Regions from separate parts of the Homo sapiens genome. Here all the other regions are linked to region 1. Evidence: promoter capture Hi-C in 16 types of primary human blood cells and fetal thymus (Javierre and others, 2016). All regions are on one chromosome and are shown on one strand. Each heading gives the region's core, a stretch centred on a gene start or on the middle of the fragment in contact. The rest is flanking DNA. Distances are from core to core; before and after follow the strand shown. Region 1 holds the start of LRP2BP (LRP2 binding protein). Region 2 overlaps IRF2-DT (IRF2 divergent transcript). Region 3 holds the start of CYP4V2 (cytochrome P450 family 4 subfamily V member 2). Region 4 overlaps CASP3 (caspase 3). Region 5 has its middle 2.8 kb from the start of TLR3. Region 6 overlaps CENPU (centromere protein U). Region 7 has its middle 33 kb from the start of TLR3.

Evidence for each region. The method cuts DNA at HindIII sites, captures the fragments that hold promoters and counts their contacts. A CHiCAGO score of 5 or more calls a contact.
Region 2: a fragment that was not itself captured here is called in contact with the fragment with the promoter of LRP2BP in region 1 in 1 of 17 cell types (fetal thymus); the score reaches 11.2 in fetal thymus.
Region 3: the fragment with the promoter of CYP4V2 here is called in contact with the fragment with the promoter of LRP2BP in region 1 in 4 of 17 cell types (total CD8 T cells, activated CD4 T cells, naive CD4 T cells and 1 more); the score reaches 8.3 in total CD8 T cells.
Region 4: a contact is called between a fragment that was not itself captured here and the fragment with the promoter of LRP2BP in region 1, in 5 of 17 cell types (fetal thymus, non-activated CD4 T cells, total CD8 T cells and 2 more). The highest score is 6.6, in fetal thymus.
Region 5: a fragment that was not itself captured here is called in contact with the fragment with the promoter of LRP2BP in region 1 in 2 of 17 cell types (M1 macrophages and M2 macrophages); the score reaches 7.4 in M1 macrophages.
Region 6: a contact is called between a fragment that was not itself captured here and the fragment with the promoter of LRP2BP in region 1, in 1 of 17 cell types (fetal thymus). The highest score is 5.9, in fetal thymus.
Region 7: a contact is called between a fragment that was not itself captured here and the fragment with the promoter of LRP2BP in region 1, in 1 of 17 cell types (endothelial precursors). The highest score is 8.6, in endothelial precursors.

The regions. Positions count from the first base shown.
Region 1 is chr4:185,394,317-185,397,794 of GRCh38, reverse strand. It overlaps LRP2BP (LRP2 binding protein), which reads left to right and starts at 1,871. Exons shown (of 9, transcript NM_001377440.1): 1 at 1,871-3,016. ANKRD37 (ankyrin repeat domain 37) reads right to left here and starts at 954. Exons shown (of 5, transcript NM_181726.4): 1 at 845-954; 2 at 493-645. The coding sequence starts at 871. RefSeq lists silencers at 969-1,338, 1,559-1,748 and an enhancer at 1,369-1,438. The HindIII fragment of the contact is 1,591 bases long and covers 799-2,389 here.
Region 2 is chr4:184,476,722-184,480,199 of GRCh38, reverse strand. It overlaps IRF2-DT (IRF2 divergent transcript), which reads right to left. Exons shown (of 1, transcript NR_186573.1): 1 at 2,896-3,478. Among named protein-coding and RNA genes, the nearest start is that of IRF2-DT, 3.7 kb to the right of the region's middle. The HindIII fragment of the contact is 7,393 bases long and covers 1-3,478 here.
Region 3 is chr4:186,190,009-186,193,486 of GRCh38, reverse strand. CYP4V2 (cytochrome P450 family 4 subfamily V member 2) reads right to left here and starts at 1,920. Exons shown (of 11, transcript NM_207352.4): 1 at 1,450-1,920. The coding sequence starts at 1,663. FLJ38576 (a long non-coding RNA gene) reads left to right here and starts at 1,997. Exons shown (of 1, transcript NR_046264.1): 1 at 1,997-3,478. RefSeq lists a silencer at 1,594-2,123. The HindIII fragment of the contact is 5,614 bases long and covers 559-3,478 here.
Region 4 is chr4:184,644,923-184,648,400 of GRCh38, reverse strand. All of the region lies in intron 2 of CASP3 (caspase 3), which reads left to right. Among named protein-coding and RNA genes, the nearest start is that of CASP3, 2.8 kb to the left of the region's middle. RefSeq lists an enhancer at 3,405-3,478. The HindIII fragment of the contact is 2,145 bases long and covers 884-3,028 here.
Region 5 is chr4:186,064,576-186,068,053 of GRCh38, reverse strand. No RefSeq gene overlaps it. Among named protein-coding and RNA genes, the nearest start is that of TLR3, 2.8 kb to the left of the region's middle. The HindIII fragment of the contact is 6,011 bases long and covers 1-3,478 here.
Region 6 is chr4:184,729,218-184,732,695 of GRCh38, reverse strand. It overlaps CENPU (centromere protein U), which reads left to right. Exons shown (of 13, transcript NM_024629.4): 2 at 1,728-1,776. Among named protein-coding and RNA genes, the nearest start is that of CENPU, 3.1 kb to the left of the region's middle. The HindIII fragment of the contact is 870 bases long and covers 1,175-2,044 here.
Region 7 is chr4:186,034,412-186,037,889 of GRCh38, reverse strand. No RefSeq gene overlaps it. Among named protein-coding and RNA genes, the nearest start is that of TLR3, 33 kb to the left of the region's middle. The HindIII fragment of the contact is 7,458 bases long and covers 1-3,478 here.

The DNA.
Region 1 (3,478 bases), core at 622-3,121:
TTTCAATTGCTGCAGGGAGACTTTTGGTAATGTAGCAATTACTTCTTTTGAAATAAACTAGATCTGTGCTGTTCAATATGATAGTCAACAGCCACTTAAGGCTAGAGTATTTGAAATGTGGCTAGTCTGATTTGAGATACGCTGTCACACCAGATTGTGAAGACAGAATAAAAGAAAGTGTAAAATATCTAATCAGCAATTGCTTTGATTACATATTGAACTGATAACATTTTGGACAAATTGGGTCAAATACTAAAATTTCATGTTTCGTTTATTAATGTGGCTACTTAAAAACTTCAAATTTCTCATGTCCTCACATCAAGACTGGAAAAAAACTCTTAAATTACATCTGTGTCTTGCATTATATTTCTGTTGGACATCGCTGCTATAGACATGTTTTTAACAGCTGAAACAACTCTTGGCGTCTGAGAAATGTTTGTGTGTGTCTGGGTTGGAGGGGACGGCTGTACACAGCAACAGTTACCTAGTTACCTGCTGGTTGAGGTCAGCGCCCGTTTGCAGCTGCCAGAGAAGAAAGCAAGCAAGGCCGCTTCCTGCGGCTAAGTGGACAGGCGACTGCTTGCAGGGATCCGGGGGTGCGTTGACCGAGGCCCCTGTCTCCAGCAAATGCTTCAGACCATCCACCTGCAGGAAGAGAACAGATCCAGCACCCTTCCCACCTTTGTCCAGTCCCGCGCCCCTCCGGGCTGGAAACCTCCCCGCCCTTCACAACCAGCTCTGACCAGGCAGCGCCCAGTGGTCCGTCCCCGCATTAACGAGAAGACGAATCTAGAAGCTTGAGCCTGCAGGACAAAAGCTCGGGCTCTGTGAGCCCGAATCTCACCTCGGGGTTGCAATCCAGCAACAGCATTTCCCGCCTAAGGCAGATGACAAGAGTCCTTGGAAGTGCAGAGAGGTGAGACACTCGCCGCACCCCGACAGGTAAGAATGCGCAGGCTGGCCCTAGCACGGGAGAATTTAAAGACCGCTGGGACTTCCGGGCCGGCCCTTGGCAGCCGCGCCCCAGCTCCGGTTACGCCCGAGCAGCCTAATCCTCAACGACCCGGACCCTGTCCAGCCCCGCCACGGCCGCACGTACACAAACACTGGCACGTGGAGCCCGGCGCCGGGGGCAGGGGGAGGGGGCGGGCGCGCGAGGCCATCCGCCGATTGGCCAGCTGTGGATGCGTCAGGCCCTCCCACCTCGGGGCGGGGCCCGCGGCGGCCCCACGGAGCCTCAGCGCGCGTGCGCAGGGTAAGTCAGTGGGCGTGAGAGGACTGGAGTAGGAGCGGGTGGGGCTCCGCGGCCGCCATGAGGCGCGCTGAGTTTGACACGTCTCCCGGTAGTGCGCCCGCCCTTTAATCCTTACGGAGAAGCGGGAGTTTCGGCTGCAGGTTTTGGCTCTGCCGGCGCGCACGTAACCAGGAAACTGGGAGCCACGCGCAGCTCCCCGTCGACGCCGCCTTCAGAAGCCGCTGTGCACTGCGCTGCTGCCGCCTCGGCGCCGGGGAACGCAAGTTCCTTTACCTCGCGCGCAGTCGCCCGCCTCCCAACCCGGGAGGTGAAGGCGGGGACGGCGAGCGCGAACTCGAGGGGATGGCTGTCCCGAGTGGCAACGGCCGAGCCCGGCCCGCGCAGGGACCCTTGTGGAGGGGCCCTCGGGGAGAGGCCGCAGCACGCTGGGGTCGTCACGCTGGTCCACGCCGGGCTCTCCTCCCGGGAGAGCGGACCCGGCCGCGTGCGATTCGGACCCGCGGGGCTGGTGAAGCCGCTGTCCGGCCCCGCGGGTGCTGTCGGGCGTGCGTCACTGCTTTTTGTAGAACATGACCTGACTTCCGATGGCAGCTACTGACGTCAGAGCTGCTCCCTAGACTCTCCCTAAGCGTCTTTCCAGAAGGATCTGCTTAGAAACCAAAGCTCCAGCCGAGTGTTTCTTTTCCCCTACATTTTTAGTGATTCCCTTCTGTTGATGCCTTTGAAAGCTCGGAGAAATAAATACGTTTATTGTTATGCTGTTAGAAAACAAGTTCATGCTTGTCCTCTAAAGATAAGTGGTCTTTTCATTCTACTTTTTGTTTTGTAGTAAGAGCCATAAAATTTGCAATCGCAAGTTTATGTTGTTATACTTAGTTACCCAAGGGGTAGTTTTAAGCATTTTTATTCATATGAATATTTGAATATAAATGTGTGTTCAAATATATAGAATCGTTCTTATATTCCACATTTTTAATATTTAAACTATTCACAATATCTTTTAATGATGTTTAAAGAACGGCAGTGTAGAGATACTGTTGTCAGATTTGTGAGGTGAGCACACGTTGATATTGCCAGTTTCGCTTTTGTTTATCAATTCAATAAGCACTGCTTTTTAAAACACGTGTTGAAGCTTCAGGTTTGCACAGAAGTTCATTTTCAGGAATTCCTAACTAATAAAGGGTATCAGACACGTTCTTACAGTTTTGAACATAAATACTGCAGTTAGCATATGTAGTGGGATATTTGTGTGGTGAAAGTGCCTCCATATTTCATATCTTTTCTTTGAAACAAGATTCTGTTCAGTATGCATTAAGTGGTAGTTATTTTTTAACTTCCTGTTACATACGTAAATTTCATAAGGAAAGGAAATTTGGGGAGTCGTTACAGCTTTTCTCCCTTTAATCACAGCGTACCTGTCCATTGCTCACATTGTTTTCAGAAAAAAAAGTTGTATCTCAGCTGGATATCTGACTTGACTTTAGTAATGGGCCTAGAAACTATAAACTGAACAAAGCTTATAATGCACAAAAACAGGATAAGTACATTTGGGGGACAATATCTTACTGGCAAGTAACTGGAGTTTCACCAGGCGTGTAGCAGGTGGGATCAATTTTCTAAAACGGAAGATGATCTAAGATGCATATTTTATAGGCGTTCTCCTAAGCAGTGCTAATTCTACATGTTTTAATTGCTGGTAGATGCGTTTCCAGAACGAGGATGCCATTTACAGCGAGTGTTAAAAAAAACGTTGGATGATGAGTAAGTGACCGAATAGATGAGAGATGTGTGGGCTGAATCTTGAGTAGTAAGAGTTTGCTAAGGAGTCCAGGAAGGGAAGAGTATTTCTAAGAAGTGTAAAATATCTTCCAGTATTGAGAGCACTATATGTAGTTCAGTCTGGGGGCAGTGTGTGATACACATGCAGCTGTGATGTGAAATAGAGAAAGGCCGACAAATGAGAAAGTATTAACCACTAACGTCTATTCCAGTTTATTATATTACAAATTGACATTAATTGAGCACTTGTGCCTCAAGACTAACGCTCATAGGTATTATCTGCATTTTACAGAAGAGGAAATTGAGGCTTAGGGAGATCCATTAACTTGTCATGTAATTATTAGCAGGTAAATCAGGAATTTGAAGTCAGTTTGACTCCAGAGCCCACATTCTTATACCTATGTGTTTTAAATAATTTTGGTCACCTCTGGTCAATTCAGGCTA
Region 2 (3,478 bases), core at 582-3,081, 920 kb after region 1:
CTTCAATACCTGAAACTATTATAGTAATTGCTCTGCAGAACGTCAAGGCAAAGCTATAGACACCATGTCCCTCTGTCTTTAAAGGTAAAAGGACTACTTTATAGTTTGTCACCATAGAGAAATAAGGAATATTTCACATATTCCACAGCCATTTGGGAAATTATGCCAAAAAACACTTCATGAAGTTTTCAAAGTTGAAAGCCTTCCTTTGGGAAAGGAAAAACACACGCACGCACGCACACACACACGCACACACACAGACACACAAACACACAGAGATGCACACACACACAGACATAGACACACACACACACACACACACACAGACACACACAGAAATCCAGGCAATTTTAGAGAATGTGTTTTCCCTTCAGAACAGGGCAGAATGAGTATCACCCAAAACTGAGCAATGTATTACTCAATGTAAACTCATGATTTTCAGAAAATAGTTGCAACAAAATGACCCCCACTTCCTAGTTTCTTGTAAAATGGAAGGAACCATTACATAAAGTAACAGTCAAACATGCTCAAGAATTTTTCAACTTGAGGCCAATGACCTTTGAACTTTGACTGATGGTTTTTTCAATCCCATTGCTGTTCTATTGCCGCAAAAAATTTAACTTGGCTGTGTGTTTATTCAACTTGGACTTCACAATAATGTTCTTTGCAACTCAGGACTGTTAATCTGTGGCTTTTGTATTGGCAACTGTTCTGGCAAGGGTGGAACCCTCGTTTTCCATGACTTTCTAACCTCCTGAATTGCAGCACCTTGGAGGGGAGCTCCAGTGGCCAAGACAGAAGTGGTCCCAGTGATTCTGGGGAGAAAACTGAGCATCTGCTTGCAGACCTGGGGCTCCTGATTAAATCATAGCTATAAATACTTAGGTTTTCATTTATATGCCTTCATGTTACACATTCCTAAGTTGCATGTACAGTTCTGAAGGCTGTGATTACAGGTGGAGATGATGTCGGTGCCATTACTGGGATGCCACAGTGGAAATCAACATGTCAACCTACAAGACTGTAAGAAAACGTCTTAGAAGGCTGGCACTTTCATTCATTTGGTTCACTGCTGTATCCCTAGTGCTGGGAAATGTTCCTGAGCACTCAACAGATTTTATTTGAATGATCATTTTATGAAACTTTGTTTCAATTTTAGGAAACTAAGTTAAAAACCCATTTGAAAGGGGTCAACTTTGAATGTGTCTTTACATTTCTTCCTTAGTTAAGATCCACTCAAGGAGAGATCCGGCACTATTGTGCTCAAGTAATATTGTCTGCACCCGACTCCCCTGAAAAGAAATGAGTCCTGAGGCAGCCAGGCAGATCTTTTAGGATATTCCATCCCACAGGTGAAATACAAACATGCTTCATCCAGGAGATGACTCTAGTTTCACTATAAAAGACCCTTCAACTTTTTTCACGTTAGACTGAAGTGTTTGGTCAGATTTCCTCAGTATGACAAAGGTTACTCTTTTTTTTTTTTTTTTTTTTTGAGATGGAGTCTCGCTCTGGCTCTGTCGCCCAGGCTGGAGTGCAGTGGTGTGATCTCGGCTCACTGCAAGCTCCACCTCCCGGGTTCATGTCGTTCTCCTGCCTCAGCTTCCCGAGTAGCTGGGACTACAGGCGCCCACCACCACGCCCGGCTAATTTTTGTATTTTTAGTAGAGACGGGTTTTCACCGTGTTAGCCAGGATGTTCTCGATCTCCTGACCTCATGATCCACCCGCTTCGGCCTCCCAAAGTGCTGGGATTACAGGCGTGAGCCACTGAGCCTACTTTCTTACCCAGGCTTCCAAAAAGGCTGGAGTTTCCACAGAGATTTATTACTATATGCATCTCATCAAAGGGCTAAGATACTTCTTGACTGTGTATATCAGTACCATGTGGCTGTTTTGGTTCATTTGTACATTTTTGGTTTGCAGTGACATGTCATCAAGGGCCTAAGAACAGAAATTCATTCTGTCTATGTTTTATGAGTTTAGGGGCCTGGAAAATTGCAAGCAACACCCATGCTTCAGGGAGGCCCCAGGACTCAGGAAAGGGGGCAGTCTGTGAGTCCTCCCAGTTTCCCAGCTAATCAATGAAGTGAACAGTGCAAGGCTGTGGAAAAGATGTTCTCTCTGACTTGGGACATGTATAATTTGTTGCACCTGAGACATGTGTAGGAGTTAATGTGGTCAGAGCTCAGAAGTTACAGATTTTGGAGTCATCAGCAAATAGTGATATCTGAAGCCCTGGGCGTGGAGGAGAACACCCAAAGATAAAGCATGTAGAATGAGAAAATAAGAGGGTTGAGGATAGAATGCCTGGAAACACCATAATTTAGGGGGCTGGCAGCAGACGAGGAACCGGCCAAGAACTAGAATAGGACAGCAGGCTGTCACATGGGCATCGTGGAGAGCAGCCTGCACAGTCAGCATTCTTAAATCCTACACACAGACAGAGGAGATGCGGATTGGAAACGGTCCCTTAGAAAGATCACTAGAAGGAAATACATAAAAATATCCACAGGTCTATTCCTGACTAGTGAGATGTCAGGTGGCTTATGTTCTTCTCTCACCATTCTTGCATCTTCCAAATTCTGTACAAGAAACATTAATTACATTTATATTAAAAAGCTATTAAAATATAAAACAAGGCTCTGATCAAGTCTAAAATATTTTATGAGAGCCTGATGAAAAGAGCAAGTAATTATTAATTCACAAGTATTTCAGTGCCTGTGTGCTGGGCACCATGCTAAAGATAAAACAATGAACAAGAGGACAGCTCTGTTGTTTGACAAAAAGGAGCGGAGGCTGGTTTGGCAAGGGAGGGATGTAGGGCTTGTGGGACACAATGGCAGGAGATGAGGCTGGAAAGGTCGTTTGGTGCCAGATTACAATGGACTTTATGTGTCTTGTCAAATAATATGGTCTTTATTCTGAAGGCTACAGAGAGGCTTTTGAGGGGGGCAGTGTTAGGTTTGGAATTGTGCTTTACCTGAAGTTAATTTTCGACTGGATTTTGGCAGTAGTGTGGCTGCTGGCCTGGGGGAGTCCAAGCAGGAGACCAGGAGCACAGGCAGCAGGCAAGTGCAGTAACTGAATGAAGGCAGTGCCCTGAGCACGGGCCAGGCCCAGAGATATTTAGGGGTAGCGTCAATAGGATATGACTGATTGGATGTATGTTGCACGAAGTAGGGCATTAAGAAAAAAAAGGAACAACAAACTTCTTCCTGCTTATCAAAGACCATAATGAGGGCAATGGCCTTTCCTGAAACACGTTCCTTGGGAAGTCAAGCATGAGCATCACAATAGTTTGGAAGCTATCTGCACCCAGCAAGTGAGTTTCCAGTTAGCCTCACGCATGGCAATAGGTGCTTAGGATGCAGGATGCAGGTTCGTGGCCCCGGCCCTGTCTGGCTCCCCTGAAATCACACCACAGAGGCAGCTGCCTTTCGTAAACACAAGGCAGGCAGTGTTAGCTGGTCCAACTA
Region 3 (3,478 bases), core at 671-3,170, 800 kb before region 1:
ACAGTGGTTTTCCTGATGCCAAAATCCAGAATTTGTTGGTGGAATAAAAAGTCCCTTTGTAAAAGACAGTATTCGTCATTGTCTTCACTCTGAAAGTGACTACAAGGAGAATTACTTTAAATAGTCCAGTCAGCTCACAGGTTGTTTTGAAACAGGTCTTTATTCACTAGAGATTTTAATTACTGGAATCCCCAAAACAGTATGATGAGACTTCAGTATATTACTTTCCAGGGGTAGGGGATAGGGGAAAATCTATATTTTTGTACAGTTTATTTTTTAATACCATAAAGCCTTAGGACAAAAGGGGTGGTTAGCTCTGCTTTTAGAATTAACTGAGATGATTTTTACCAGTGTGATTTTCATATCTGTGTTGGATTACTTGTTACATCAGTCATGATGATATTTGGTTGGCAAAGAGTTCGCTTGATTTTTTTCTGTCAAAGTATTTTTAATATTTTGGTAAACACTCTTCCATGAGGCCTCATCTTGTGAAGTTGAAATTACAGCATTATTTTTATTAGAGAAAACAAGTGAAAATGAGAAAAAGTCCTTCAAGCTTTGGAGTTAGTTAATGCTCAGCCTGTAAAACGATTACTAACAAATAATCCCAGAGGAAACTGGGTTCTGGTCTGGGCCAATTTTAAAATATGCCATTTTGGGCAAATCTTCTCATTTCTGGGTACCTCAACGTAATCCCTGATGAAAATAAAACTCTGAGATCGAGTTCGCCCTCCCTGACAGGGAGTTGTAAATACCAGGTACTTTTGAGAGCTTTCTAACTTAACGTGATTTTTTTCCATCAATAAAATGTCCATCTCTGTTTTAAAACATGATTTTAATTAAAAAATTCACTCTTTAATAAACAAGGCGTTTGACACCCTCCAAAGAAGTCTGCCTGAAGGCCCTGCCGTCTCTTAATTGTTATTATGTAACATCCTTTAAAGGGCTAAAGTATGAAGGTCAAGCGGGAACTGAAGCAGCAGTCAAGTCTTGTGATGCCGGGAGGAAGCGTCCAGTGAATCTCTAGTCTCTTATTTTCCAAAGTGGCAGCGAGAGGAGGGCGGCTCTGGGCGTTAAGGTGTTGGCCAGTTTAAAACCGCTCTGTGCTCCCAGGGAGCTTCTGTTCCTAAGGCTTCCCAAGCCAAGGCAGGAGGAAACGGCAGGGCTTTGAGAGCTGAGCAGCGGTGAGGTGGGAAAAGACCGAGGGCAGGGGTTTGGAAATACCGCATCCTGTGCTACACACAAAGAAAATGCTCACTTTGGGATGGGGCACTAGCAGTGTCGGCGGGTGCCAAGGGGCAACGACTAGAACTGGGAGTGCATTCTCCACAGGGTGACAGGCTCCTCTCTCCTGCGGCCAGCGCCACAAGCAGCGGGTTCCTGGCTGATCGGAGGGTGGGAACGGGGCTGCGGACCCCGTTGCGCTCCAGGAGGAGCGCCGGCCCTTACCTCGCCCGTCCGGCTTCATCAGCAGCGCGTGGCCCACCAGTGGGTAGGCGCGGGCCACCGTGGGGATGGGCCGCATCTGCTGCCATTTCCGCGCGTAGCTCGCCACCCTCTGCAGCAGGCTCAGGACCAGACTGGCGCCGGCCAGGGAAAGGGCACTCGCCGCGCCCCACAGCAGCAGCTTCTGCCACACGAGCCCCAGCCAGAGCCCCGCCATCGCCCCGGCTGGCGGCCGCGGGGTGCACTCCGGGAAAGTGCGGGCCCGCGGGGGCGTGGTGCGAGGCGGTGCCGGCCGCACACCGCCCACTTCCCCGCGCGGACCTGGCGCGCTCCCCGCTGCGGGGTCGCCCGGTCCCCGGAACGACGTTTCCCGCCCGGGCGGCGGCCAGAGAGGGCGCCACGGGGCTGTTCCTGCGCCCGGCCCGGCCTACGCAGCACCGCGGCCTCCACGCCCCAGCCGAAAGCGAAAGACCGGAAAACGGTTTCCGGGCCCCAGGGCGTAGTGATTGCACTGGAGGCCCGGAGGCTGCGCCGGGAGGAGGCCGGCGACACTTCCGGCCGCCTCCGGATGCGGGGTCAGGGGCGTCGGAAAGGTCACCGCGGCAGCCCGGCGCGCCCCAGCGGGGCTGTTCTGAGGGTGCTGCGAGGTTGCTCTACGTGCGGGATTCCGCGGGCGGGCAGCCTGCTCTGGAGAGGAAAGGAAGGCGCATCCGGCTCGGAGCCCAGCTCTGCTGCGCATCGCTCGCTCCCTGCGCAACTTGCAGCCCCGGGAGGCGGGGCGCGTCCTGGCTCCCGCGGGGTCACATGGAGCAGCGGGCGCTGTAATCCAGGGAGGCTTTGGGGACACGTTAGGGAAGTCAGCTACCCGTGTGTGTCCGCTGGCCCACTGGGACACTGGGAGCTCAATGAGGTGGTTATGAGCCAGGTATTTTCCAAAATACGCACCAGGCACCAGACCGAGGAAGCCGGAGCCCCGGAGAGCACGCAGGGGCGGGTGGGAGAGGAAGGCGGGCGAGGCTGCTCAGCGGGTGCCGGGAGACCGCAGCCGCGGGGTACTCGCAGAAGAGCCAAGACCTGCCACCCAGCCCGGGAAGGGAGGGAAGGGCCGCGAGAGGGTGCCCCATTTCAGCCTGGGGAGACGCGTGTGCTGGCCGCCAGTCTCTCTTCCCGGCAGAGGGCCCCAGTGCTGACCCCAGCCCCTTTTCCACGCTCGATGCTTCTTACAAAGTGGCCGGGCGAGGAGTGTCGCTCCCCGAGAGGCCAGGCCCTTCCTAAACACTAAAGTGCCAGGAAGATGAAACTGAATGTCCTGGATGCCCGCTTTGCTTAATTACTAATTACGTTCGTTCACTCGAAGCCACTGCATAAGTTGGCCACAGCCACCTGCAGGGCCTCTTTAGTGCAGAGAAAAACATGCCTAAGGCTTTTCTCCATTTGAATTTGTTTTAAGTCATCTGCATGGGCTGACGTGAAATAGCAAGTGAACAAAACAAGTTGCAGAACGGAGTGTGTAAAGTAATGCCTTCTTTTGGAGAAAAGGTTTCTTTCTCTACGGCTCCACTAATGTCTGCAAGTAAAAATACTGATCAGCTCTATGGAGTGGGAATGAAGATGGGGAACTTACGCTTTTTATTTCATTCACGTCTACATTGTTTAATCACTTTAACACTTTAAAAAATAAATATGTTCACTTAGTATCTTTAAGCAAGTCTCATGGGCTTTAGTTTCCTCCTCTCTAAAGGGTTGAGGCTGAGCTATAATAAGGTTAATTACAGCTATAAAAGTAAACAATTTGTCTACATACTGGGGATTCTAAAATAGGGGGAGGAAGGAAGGGGAGTAATGGTTGAAAAACTGTGTATTGGGTACTGTGTTCCCTATTCAGGTGAGGGGATCAATAGAAACTCAAACCTCAGCGTCAGGCAAATTTAACAAACCTGCACATGTGCTCTTGAATCTAAAATTAGAAAGAAAAAGGGTTTGTCTGTATCAGTCTCTGCTAACCTCTGTGGATAAAACCAGGCGGGTAACA
Region 4 (3,478 bases), core at 707-3,206, 750 kb after region 1:
CTTTTCCTGCTTAGTCGCCAAGCCTTGTCGACCTTGTAAATGTCTGCCAGATCTGTCCGCGTCTCTCTATCTCTGATTTCAGCCGTCTGACCACAGCAGCCTCTTCCCTGGTCTCTCCACTTCCAGACCCGCCTGCTCCTTTGCAGTCCACTTTTTACAGCACAGGCAGAGGGATCTTTATGAAATGAAAGTCTAGAAAGCTCGTCCTTTGCCCTTAGGTTAAACCCAGCACTTAATATGGCTAACAAACCCCTGCGTGTGTTGGGTCCTGAGTGCCCCCACCCCTCCTTATCTTTAGCACCGGTTCGATTTCTGCACGGCAATGCTGACCTTCATACCTAGTGTCTGCCTGCAACACCTCTGCACTCCCTTTCTCCCGCCATCACATTTGATTAGAAGAGCTGCTACTTAAATTTCTGTTTTCATTAAACAGTTTAAGGTTAAATCTTCCTATGCTGTGTTCTTTCTGCAGCCAGCATTCCCTAAGAGAGATGTGTCATATCCTTTGCAGTTGCTTGTTTACTATCTTCCCTGCTAGATTTGCAAGCAAACTCCAGGAGGGACGGACTTGGTTTATCTTGGTATCCTTAGTGTCTTGCCCCAAATGCGGGGCCTGGCATAACACAGTGAATGCCCATCCATTGTATTTTTACTTTTATGCCCTATCTAGAAAAAGTAGACCTGGTTTAGGATTATTCAGCAAATAATAATTAGAAAAGAAATGGTAGAGGTGACATACGGAGTCACTGAAACGATGTAAACCTGCAAGATAGCTGAAAGAGGGCCAGGCAAGGTGGTTAGACCAGACTGTATCAAAATGGGCTCAGCCACTGTGAATGTGCGTGCTGTGGTTACATAATCTCTAAAAATGAAATATAAAGCTTAAATCATCTCTATCACAGCCCGATGCTTGGACTTTGGTTTTGCTTTGCCTTTTTGCAAAAGAAGGTTTTTGAAAGTGAAAATTATTTTAGTGAATGGATGAACAGTTTATTGGAGTATGGCAATAAAACCTGTTCAAAGTAAGAGACATTAGACATTGTACCTAGTTAAATCAGATTTGCTTTTGCTATCCTGAATAAAGGCCTTGCCTCTTGCCATTTGAAGAGACTGGCATCTGATATAGGCAATTATAATGCTTCTTTACTGTTTTGTTTTCAAACCTCGTTTAACACAATCTCCTACTGCTTCATCCCCCTACAAAGCAGTCTTTATTTTGATGAATGATATATTACATTGCTTCTGGTGCCTACTATTAGATCTTTAAGCTCTGCCCCAAAGATAAGAAGCACTGGTGTTTGGGCCTAAACAAAGATGGGAGAATTCTTAGATTTATATAATATTCTTTCTCTGCATGTTTTGTTCTTACCTTCACATGTTGCCTGTAGAGCTTCTTTGCATTACAATAATGAAATCAAGCTACCTGATATGTATTGGACACGGTCTGGCATCTGCCTTGTTGAGCCACTTTTGAATACCAGTGAGCATCGGTATAAGCCCTGAATAGAGATAGGGTTTGTCTCTTCCACTGCTTGATACACTCAGGGTCTAGTATAGTACTCTGCACACAGTTGGTGTTCAGTAAATTGTTATGGTGCAAATATCAAATGAATAAATGCTACTGAATCTGAGTTTTGGCAGTTTCAGTCTTCCTGACAGCAGGATTTCTTCAAGCGGTTTTAAACTTGAATCTGATTCTGCAAAGTAGTCATCCTTGGTGGGAGTGCTGAGGCTTTAAAGTCATCTGTAATTTTTATAAAAAGGCATCCGAGATCCTCCATTTTACACTTATATCATACAAATCATTTAGATCTGTGAAGGCTTTCCCATTTTCTCCTTTTGTCCTTCCAAAAACACCATCTTAGGACTTCACCTGGCACAGGGAAGACAGATCGTTTGCACATACTAAGTGCCCTTCTTTCTAACTTGTGTCATAAACTCAGAGGCTTTGAATAGTGGAGAGTGCTCTGTACTGTCTTCCTGGTCACGTGGCCCTTGCCAGAGGAAAGGAAAGGATGGTTTGTTTGTATAGTACAATGGAACTTATTTCAATGTATTCTGTATTTGATTTTACATTCCTGTTCTCATATTTTTACCTTAATTACATAACAAATATTAAAAGATTGACTTCACCAGGCCCAGTTACAATCGCCAGTTTGATAATTCTTATACGTACTCAAATGAATTCAGAGACCAGATGGGAAAAGATTTTGATAAAACCTCTGGTACATCACAACTGAAGTCTTTTCTTGTCCAAACTATTGTGAAACAGATGTTCTTTCTGTTTCATTTGCTAAATCTGGAAACGTGACTGCTTTTGAGACTTTGTCCTCTCTGACAGGTAATAAATATAATCCTGATATTTTTCAAGTTGTTTGACAGAAGTGTAATCTCCCCAGAAGTCCTGCTGGACAGGCTTCACTTTTCCTTTGGAGGAACACAGAGATACAGGGAATATGTTTTAATGACATATACCTAACGCTGAACATGAAACCAGTTATTTTACTTTTATTATTATTATTTTTAGAAACAGCCTTGCTGTGTCACCCAAGCTCAAGTGCAGTGGTGCGATCATAGCTCACTGCAGCCTCCAATTCCTATGCTCAAGTAATCCTCTTGCCTCAGCCTCCTGAGTAGCTGGGACTACAGGTGTGTGCCACCATGCCAGGCTACTTGTTTTTACTTTGTTATAGAGATGGGGTCTCTCTGTGTTGCCCAGACTGGTCTTGAACACATGATCTCAACCATTCCTCCCACCTTGGCCTCCCAAAGTGCTGGGATTACAGGCGCGAGCCACTGTGTCTGGCCTATTTCACTTTAGAAGTAAATTGAATGCCACATGCGAAGTTTGTTAAATTTTTTTAAAAAAGGAAAGAAAACACAAAAGTAAACTACCTAGTCGCATCAGAAATGCCATAGTCATTTTTGCCATTTTTTCATTCATTAGAATTCAGTGCATTATGTTATTTTGTTATCTCTGCAGTAACTTTCTATCATGTTATTTATTTTCTTTGTCTTATTTAAAGCTTCTGAGATTATGGATTTTTGTTTCCTTCCCTGAAGTTAAGTGTTATCATTCCTATATAGTACTAAGCTGTCTACAGAATAGTGGGAGTCTGCCCTCTTGAGTTGGGAAGATCCTAGTTTGAATCTTGGCTGTGCGACTTTAAAGTTCATTAACTTCTCTTAGCCTCAGTCACCTGAACTCTGCAGTGGGGATCCTTATGCCTCAGAGTGTCATTGGGAGGACTCACGAAAATACGCTTGTACTTTGAGTTCAGTACCTAGCCTGTATGAGCCAGCATTAAGAGGGACAGTCATCACGCAGCGCTTTGCACACAGCTCTCACGCCACATCCTTTGGCTACTGTTTTGGTAAATCTTTACTAGTAAATGTTTCTTAAAAGCATTTACATTCATGGACATGATTCAGAAACTAACAGTTGTTTTTTAGGTCTCACTTTGAGATTTAAAAACCC
Region 5 (3,478 bases), core at 667-3,166, 670 kb before region 1:
ATGTCCAGGAAAACTTCACTAATATTCAAAAGATTTCTTCTCTGTGAGCGCCTTGAAGGCAGGGTGAGGTTTATTCTTTGCATTATAGCTCCCCAGCAACCCTCTGAGGTAGACTGTTTCTTTGGCCTTCAATGAAAGAGACTCGTCCTCAGAATTCAAACCCTTGTGTGGCCTTCTCCCACGCTGACTCTAGGCTTGGCCATTTGACTAGCTTTGACCAGTGGGATATTAGCAAGCATGCAACAAGGTCTCATTGCCAAACACGATTACCCAGGCTTGAGAAGCAAGCAAATAAATGATTGTTGTTTTAAATTTAAAAAAATTGGAATGGTGTCATATGCATTATTAGCGAAATAAAACACATCATCTCAACAATCCTTCATACCTATCCCTTATGCCTTATGACTCCTTATACAGATTAAATTTCCCACGACTTTGGTTGACTAATGAATGGCTCTCGATAAATAAATTTTATTGATGGTCTCCTGATGCAGTAGTTTGGGCTTAATACCAGTTCATATTCAGATATTATTAGTCCTTAATTCTTGCTAGTTTCTAAATACAACACAGATTGTTTTCTCTCTACTGTACATTTCTTAACTATGTGCATTAACTTATTTAGCTATGATGGTGATTGGAGCAATAGTGAAAAACCTCATTTTTCCCCTTTTTAAAAGAATTAAGGCTGGGAGCAGTGGATCATGCCTGTAATCCCAACACTTTAGGAGATTGCTTGAGCCTAGGAGTTCAAGACCAACCTGGGCAACGTGGTAAAACTCCATCTCTACAAAAATTACAAAAATTAGCTGGGCATGTTGGTGCATGCCTATAGTCTCAGCTACTTGGGAGGCTGAGGTGGGAGGATCACTTGAGTCCAGGCAAATTCAAGTTTGCATTGAGTCATGAGTGCGCCACTGCACTCCAGCCTGGGTAACAGAGGGAGACCCTGTCTCAAAAAAAGAGAGAGAGAGAATTAAAAAAAAATGTATGCCCATAAATGTAAAATAACAAATTTAGTAAACACTGATATTTCACAGCATTACAGATCAGCCAATCTCAGAATAATGGGAAGCTGTATATTCCCAGCAAAACAGAGATCTACAGAATTCTAGAAGCCAAAGTCCCTTAAATTTATTCACATTCTAAAAACTCTAAGTTCCCTTCTTCCATTTGAGGGGCCTCTTTAATGAGAGTTTAGTAAGATAATATACACAAAATTTCTGGAAGAATCACTTGACAAAACACAGCAAGTTACAGAGACCGGAGTGACAAGCCAGATATAATTAGCAAATTACCACTCACATGCTGAACTACACAGACACTGTTCTTCTCTGCCCGTTCCTAATAACAATTCTTAATAAAACAGCCGTTTTTATTTTTTTTAATCTTTTTTTTCCTGAGACAGAGTCTTGCTCTGTCACCCAGGCTGTAATTCAGTGGCGCGATCTCAGCTCACTGCAAGCTCCGCCTACCGGGTTCAAGTAATTCTCCTGCCTCAGCCTCCAGAGTAGCTAGCTGGGACTACAGGCACGTGCCACGACGCCCGGCTAATTTTTTGTATTTTTGGTAGAGACGAGGTTTCACCGTGTTAGCCAGGATGGTCTCGATCTCCTTACCTCGTGATCCACCCACCTTGGCCTCCCAAAGTGCTGTGATTACAGGCGTGAGCCACTGCGCCCGGCCAATTACAACCATTTTACCTATAGACAAAGATAGTGTATAGTCTGTAGGCAGTCTAGTCAATTCATTATAAGATTTATAAGGGAAAGTTTATCATTTTCATTATCATCATTATCAGCACCTACAATACTGAGGCTTTACGGAACCATCTTTACAATCTCCCGAATGAATGAATTTAGACATGAGGATTGTGTCACCGCAGTTTCTAACCACAAATATAGAGAATTGAAATTGTGGGGCAAACAGAAGACTCTCCTCTCAATGCATGTATGTGAAAAGGCAGATTAGTACTGAACAATACAATAATTACACTCTGTGAGGGCCAAATATAGAGAGAACTAATTGCTCAGTAATACTTAACATTTGTGCCAGCAATGAATATCCAATTATGAGTGAGCTGTTGGGTATTTGAGGCAATATCATGCATAGGTTTAATTTAAACGGGCTCTTAGAGTCTCAGAAGTAAACCTTTATTCATGGTGTTAAAGTACATTAAAATGGAGACCAGGCCAGAAGAATCCATGAACATACCAAACCAGCAAGGGCTCATAAGCGACCTCGACCTTGCTTGATCTGCAAACATAAGTGACATACGCAAACATAATAACTTGAGCACTATATCTTGTAAATGCCTATATTAAAGAAAACGTAAACACAACCAATCAGAAGCAGCCAACAAACTTATATAACTAAGGACTTTCCAATGAGATAGACCAAATAAGGTAGCTGTATAACTGTAAACAGTCAAGCGCTGTCTTTGCTCTACTTCTGTCTCTGTCCTGAAAAAGCCTTCTCTTGTGTTCCCTTGGTGGAGCTCCCCAACCACTTCTGGTTCATGAATCATTGCTGGTTCAGAAGCACTGTAAAACTGTATTGTGCCTCAGTTTACTTTTTTATTTGTATAGATTTATGGGAGTACTAGTGCCATTTTGTTCCATGCGTAGATTGCATAGTGATGGAGTCAGGGTCTTTAGGGTATTCATCACCCAAATAACATATATTGTGCCATTAGTATCAGTTTACTTTTTAAGAATAGGAACAAGGAGATTGGACCAACCAATGTTCTCTGGGTTGGCAGGAAGCCAAAGTAAGGCTAGACCTTTTCATCATTCAAACTTCTCATGGGTATGTAATGCGATGAATATATTATGAACCTAAACAAATGGTTAAATTCCCTGAGAGCACCAGATAGACAGTCATTGTGAACTGCACTCAACTGGTCCCTTCACAGCCCCCATTCAGAAAGGACATGGTTCTGATCTGTATTGGCTGAAATTCTAGGAAGCATTTCTTTTCTTTCTGAATCCTTTCTCTAAAGTGAAGATACAGTTCCTCTTACCAGTGTCACTTCTATTTCTGCTCACTGAGCTTTCGCTAGTTTGAACTAGGCTCAACCAAAGACCCCAGCAACAACTTTAAGAGAGAAAATAACAAATGTCCCTCTCCCTACTCTCGCTCATGTCCACTGAGCAGTATTGAAGTTGAATTTCCCCTCTGAAAAAGAAACCAATGTTTGCCACAGAGAGCTTCTGGTTTAATCTAAACTTTTTTTTTTTTTTTTTTTTTTTTTTTGAGGTGGAGTCTCACTCTGTCTCTCAGGCTGGAGTGCACTGGCACGATCTCAGCTCACTGCAACCTCTGCCTTCCCGGTTCAAACAATTCCTGCCTCAGCCTCCTGAGTAGCTGGCACTACAGGTCCCTGCCACCACACCTGGCCAATTTTTGTATTTTTAGTAGAAACGGGGTTTCACCATGTTAGCCAAGGTGGTCTCGATCTCCTGATCTTGTGATCCACTCA
Region 6 (3,478 bases), core at 360-2,859, 660 kb after region 1:
AGAGGTTTCTGTCTCTCAGAAGCCCCACCTTGACTCCAGCGTAAGGCAAGGAGGAACCTTGACTTTTTTTCCCCCCCAAGAAAGGACAAGACAGCTCAAAGAGTTTAGGTTAAGAAGTTTATGTGGTCTAGTGTGTAGCTGGGTTTCTGTTACCTGGCTATGTGACCCTTGATAAGTCACTTAAATTTTCTGAATCCCGGAATCATCATCTATAAAATTGCCATAAAACCAATACTTGTCTTACCTGCTTCCTTAGGTTTCATGAATTAAATAAATAAATCGTGAACTTGTTAGAAATGCAGAATCCCAGACCTCACCCCAGAGGGACTGAATCAGACACTCCTGGGGTGGTGCCAAGCAACCTGTTCAACAAGCCCTCTTGAGAATTTTGATGACACTCAAGTCTGGGAACCACCGCTCTGAACAGTTTTCTAACTTTTTTTTTTTAACTGTGATTCACAGTAATGATGTTTTACATCACACTTAGTACACGTGTGCACACATCCACACATAAAACAAAAGGCTTGTGAACATAGTATATCCAGTGCAATGCTTCATTTTATATTTTCCTTTTTTATTGTTTGTTTTTTTAAAAATGCTGGCCTGGCAATCTTAAAAGACATTATAGGACAATTGATGTGATTTGGGTATGGACTGTAGATTAGATTATGGTATCAGTGTTAAATTTCTTGATTTTAGAAATTGTACCATGAATATGCAGTATAATGCCCTCTTAGGAAAGACATATTGTAGTATTTAGGGGTGGAAGTGCACAGTATCTCCAGACACACACACACACACACACACACACAGAGCACATGAGTAAAGGGCATACAGAAGGTCCTTGTGCTATGTTTGCAACTTTTCTGTGAGCTTGAAATTATATCAGATAAAAGGATACTAAAACATTGGTTTAGACTAAGCTGATTTTGCTGTCTACAAATGAGAAAAATATGGCTGCAATCTGCATGGCATATTTTAAAGTCTAATTATGTACTGTATTCTCCTGGAGTATCCCCCCCGTACCCTTGTACGATGCCTGGTTGGTGGAGGATAGTCTGTACATATTCACTGACTGCTGGCACTATTATTAGTAATAATGATATATAATCCTGCCACTGTTATTTCCCGTTTTTATTCTTGTCACCATTGTTACATTTGTTTTCTTGAAGCTTGTTGAAGATATATATACAACTTTATCATTTGAAGCTGTGGTCCAACTGAGAGAGTGTCAAGGGAGGTCGAGGGCAGGCCCTGGATTTGAACTGATGTAAATTTTAATGCAGGCTTGTCTCCCTCCTGGCTCCGTGTTGCTGTGGGCAAGCACACATCTGTAACATGGGATTCACTTCTACCTTATAGGACTGTTAGAATTAAATGAGAAAAGGACGTAGGAGAGCCAGGCACCGGATGGAGCAGGTGTCGGGGCTTAGCGTTAGCCTACCTCCCCTTTGTTCAGCTGTGCAGAGAAAGTCAATCACTGCTGATTGATTAAGGCCTCAGGGAAAAAGTTAACAGCAGGATTCCAACTTTTCCATGTCCCTGAGGGGGAGAGGTATGTTATTTTATACATTGGTGATAGGATTTGACCTATAAAAAATAAATTTGTGGAATATGGGTTCTTGTTTTTTTTTTTGGTAAAAATGCGCGGAAAGGGTCATAACTATGGTGTTTCCTCAGTTATTTTAACTATTTCCTAACTCTTGTGTTTTTTTGCTGTTTAATAGCGCAAGACGTTCAAAGAACACTTTAGAAAGAACACATTCCATGAAAGATGTAAGTTACCTTTTTGTGTTGTGGTTTTCTCAAAATTGACAGTACAAAATAACATTTTTTGGGTACCTCAGTTTTGTAGACTTCACTTGGCAAGTTCAATGTTTATTGTAGTGAAAAAGTGTGTTCATTTTCCTCACACTTTTTCCGGTATAGTGGATAAAATGACTTTTGTTAATGTTTTAGAATTTCCTTTATTTCTGAGCCGAGTTTGGTTTTATTTTCGTTTAGATAATTGACTTCATGTAAAAATTGTACAGTGCTGTAAGCTTTTTTCACTTAAAGCCATTTCTCCTCATTGTACTTTTCAAGAATTGTTTTATGATTTCATGATACTCCACTTAGTTCACATTACAGGTTTACTTTTCTTTAGAGTCTTAGAATAAATGTATGTTAAAGGCATGTGCATTTCTTTAACGTTCTTGATAGCTAATTCCAGTTTTTTTTTCCAGTGGCTTGTGTGATTGACATTGTAATCTCACATTAACAGTGTATGACAGTGCCAGGCACCCCGGAAGGAGTTCCTTCTGCTTGTTCTGCCCTGGGCTTTCTCTGTCCTGCATAGTCCTTAACCCCAGCCTGCAGACGATAGCTCTCTTCCCCTCTGGGAAACCCTGGGATCCCCCTGCAGGGTTTTGCTCAGCGCTCTGCTCCCACCCCGGCATTACTTCACGGGTTCTTTGGGTGGATTTCTCTCAGCTGTCCTGCCTTGCCCCTGCCATTGGTAGCCAAAGTACAGTGTGCCTCGGAGGGATTTCTCTAAGCTCCAGCCTTAGCTGGAAGCCCAGAGTGCCTGGAATGGATTCAGCTTTCCTGTCCTTCCCTCTGCAAGGCAGTCCCTGGTGGAGGCCCCCTATGCCTTGGGAGGGGCTGGAAGACCTGCCAGCTCTCTCCACATTCCACCCCCAAGCACTCCAGGAATGATTCTTTCACTGGGGGCATCTGAATGGTCAAGTTTTTATATGGTTTGCCAATTTTATTTGACCTCCTTTATACCTTCCAGAATTTTCTTATTTTTGTATCTGTTAATAGTACCCTTCCACATTTTCTGGAACTACCATGAAAGTTTTTCTCATTTTATGTATGTTTTCATGTTTCATTAGATTTGGGGTAGCAGACTTCATGGGTGTATCAGTATATTGAACTCTAAACCCTGGTGTCCTTTAGTCAGGAGTTTTTACACATGTGTACCCTTAAAACTGTTTATGAACTTTTGGGTATATGGGCATATTTCCGGAGACAGGACCCATCACTTTCCCTAGGTCAGAGGTTTAGGCAAACTGGCCCATGGGCCAAATCTAGCCTGCCACCTGTTTTTGTATATCCCTGCAAGCTAAGAATGGTTTTTACCTTTTTTAATGGTTGAAATAAAATAAAAAGACTATGTCATAATATGTGAACATGATATGAAATTCAAATTGCAGTGTTCAAAAGTCAAATTGTATTGGAACACAGCCATGCTCATTCTTTTCTGTGTGGTTACTGTCTGCATTCATGTGACAGTGGCTGAGTTAGTAGTCAAAACAGAAACCTTACGGCCTGCAAAGCCTAAAAGAATTTACTTTCTTGTCCTTTATAGAAAAAGTTTGCCAATCCATGCCTTAGGTTATCAAAAAATTCTATGTCCCCAAAAAGTGTTAGCTTGCTTCTTTCTTTTTATTTTAACTGAAACATTGTAATTGTACACATTTGTGGGGTCTGATTT
Region 7 (3,478 bases), core at 492-2,991, 640 kb before region 1:
GATTCCAGGTGCTGCTTCCATCTGTGATTCCCGCCTGCCCTGCAGTATTGCTCCCTCTCCTAACAGCTCCATCTCTCCTATCTACATCCTGCCTAGAGGGGCACACCTGTGCATCAGCTCCCTAGTGTGTGCAATCAACAAATTGAGTGAGGTTATCTCCAGAATCACTTTCCCAGTCTAAAGAGCTTATAATTCTTTGAACCAGCTTATCCCTTTGTTCTTTTTGGGGTCCTAATTAGGGAAAAGGAGTCAGGCTGGTGGGACCGAGGGAAAGCAGAAAGAGGAAGCAGATAAGTTATGTAGGCTTGCCTTTCTTCACCAGGACCAGTCCTCCTATGAATATAACTCAATCGTCCTCTACCCACCTTCTCACCAGGCACGGGTAAGTGAGCTCCCTGTAACCCTGGTGTTATCAGTACTGCTCGTAGCCCTCTTCAGCACACAGCAGAAGCACAGTTCTATAAAATCCCCAGCCCTGCAAGACTTTGTTTCCTGGCAGTCAGCTCCTCTTCTGCTGGCCTACCTGTTGCCTTCTTGCAACATATTTTTATACTTTCTTTATTAAACCTGCCTTTCTTTACCTACAACTATCTTGATAAATTCTTACCCCCGTGCCACTGGCCCGGATAGTCACCAGTCACCCATGACATTCTTTTCCCTTCTGTTCCCTGTATGTCATGTCCCACGGCAACCTTCCACACTTTATTCTAAATAAGCACTCATTTGGTCAGTGACTAGGTTAGCAAGTGAATGAATGACCAGCTTCTGTGACCTCATCTGCCTACCTTCAACATTTCCTTTCCTGTCCTCTTCCCCACCCTGCCCCCCAATATGTGCTTTTCTTCATCATTTCACTGTCCTTCCCAGCAACTGAATTTAGAGTCTTCATTCCAGCTCCTCCTGCTCCATTCCTTCCTGCACTCTTTGCTGCTGTTCTCTGCTTGCTTCCCTGCTGTGTCATTTCAGTTGCTAGAGTTTTGTGTTTTGCTTGCCACATCAGTCTCTGGCTTATCTGCATTATATTCCTGCTCACCAAAATAGAATGACTGAGATATTGATTGAAGTGGCAGATTTGGATTCGCCTCAGCTCTGGTGTTAGGTTGTTCTTGGCTTGCTATAAAAAAAATACCTGAGACTGGGTAATTTATAAGAAAAGAGGTTTAATTGGCTCATGGTTCTGCAGGCTTTACAGGAAGCATGGTGCTGTCATCTGCTTGTCTTCTGGGCTGTCTCAGGGAGCTTTTACTCATGGTGGAAGAAAAAGAGGGAGCGGGTGGGTCACATAGCCAGAGCAGGAGCAAGAGAGAGAGTAGGGAGGAGATGCCACACACTTAACCAATCTCTCTGGAACTCACTGTCACAAGGACAGCACCAAGCCATAAGGGATCCACCCCCATGACCCAAAAACCTCCCACCAGACCCCACCTCCAACACTGGAGATTATAATTCAACCTGAGATTTGGAGGGGACAATATCCAAACTGTATCAGCTCACAAATGAGATTTGAATCTGAGTAGTAAGTTTATGACAACCAAGGTGAATTGGTAATGGGAATAGTTAGGAGTATCAGACAAACATAAGAAACAAGTTAGCTTTTTTTTTTTTTTTTTGAGATAGAGTCTTACTCTGTCACCCAGGCTGGAGTGCAATGGCATGATCTCGGCTCACTGAAACCTCTGCCTCCTGGATTCAAGCAATTCTCCTGCATCAACTTCCCCAGTAGCTGGGATTCCAGGCACCCGCCACCATGCCTTGCTAACTTTTGTGTTTTTAGTAGAGTGGGGTTTCACCATGGTGGCCAGGCTGGTCATGAACTCCTGACCTCAAGTGATCCACCCCCCTCGGCCTCCCAAAGTGCTGGGATTACAGGCATGAGCCATTGTGCCTGGCCACAAGTTAGCTTTAATTCTCTGGAGGACAGTCCATGGTCAATGGTCTCAGATGCTTGTAAAATACTTGAAGAGTTGATGCTGCTGCTCAAGCCCACCTCATCAATTCCCAGCCTTTACCAGTTGATAACTGATGGTCTGCAGAGGGATTGGGAACATCGCTCAACCTGTTCCTTATTTCTTATATCAGAGATCGGTACCACATTTCCCCTGTCATGTGCCTGACCCGATGCAATAGCTACTGAATATGTACAAAAGCATACAGACTCTGTATTTGAAAATAAGAACAAGCCCTTGATAGGTAATTGTATACTTATGAATTATCAAAAATTTACTATATGAAAAATAACAGACTTTTTTTTAACCCTGTAAAATGTTTTATAAAAATTTAATTTTAATTGTAATAACACAAATGGATGGATGTTTAGGTGCTAATTAGAAAAGTAATTGGAAATTTTTTCTGTCAAAGTATCCTCATATGTCTGAGGAAATCTTTCCCTACTTGAGGGCTGGGGAGGGAGGGAAGATACAGCAAGGGGATCGGGAATCCATGTGTGCCTCAGGCTCGATCTGTATCCTGAGGGATTGGTAATCAGTGTGTGTATCAGGTGAGATCTGTACCCTGAGGGATTAGGAATCCATGTGTGCATCAGGTGTGATCTGTACACTGAGGGATTAGGAATCCATGTGTGCATCAGGTGTGATCTGTACCCTGAGGGATTGGAAATCCATGTATATATCAGTCATAATCTATACCCTGAGGGATTGGGAATCAATGTGTGTATCAGTCATGATCTATACCCTGAGGGACTGGGAATCTGTGCATGTAGCAGGTGTGATCTGTACCCTGAGGGATTGGGAATCCATGTGTGATCAGGTGTGATCTGTACCCTGAGGGATTGGGAATCCATGTATGTATCAGTCATGATCTGTACCCTGAGGGATTGGGAATCAATGTGTGTATCAGGTGTGATCTATACCCTGAGGGATTGGGAATCTGTGTGTGTATCAGGTGTGATCTGTACCCTGAGGGATTGGGAATCCATGTGTGTTTCAGGCATGATCTGTACCCTGAGGGATTGGGATTCCGTGTGTGCATTAGGCATAATCTGTACCCTGAGGGATTGGGAATCTGAGTGTGTATCAGGTATGATCTGTACCCTGAGGGATTAGGAATCCACGGGTGTATCTGGCGTGATCTGTACCCTGAGGGATTGGGAATCCGTGTGTGCATCAGTCATGATCTGTACCCTGAGGGATTGGGAATCCATGCGTGTATCAGGTGTGATCTGTACCCTGAGGGATTGGGAATCCGTGTGTGTATCAGGCATGATCTGTACCCTGAGGGATTGGGAATCCGTGTGTGCATCAGGCATGATCTGTACCCTGAGGGATTGGGAATCCGTGCGTGTATCAGGTGTGATCTGTACCCTGAGGGATCGGGAATCCTAGTGTGTATCAAGTATGATCTGTACCCTGAGGGATTGGGAATCCGTGTGTGCATCAGGCATGATCTGTACCCTGAGGGATTGGGAATCCGTGCGTGTATCAGGTGTGATCTGTACCCTGAGGGATCGGGAATCCTAGTG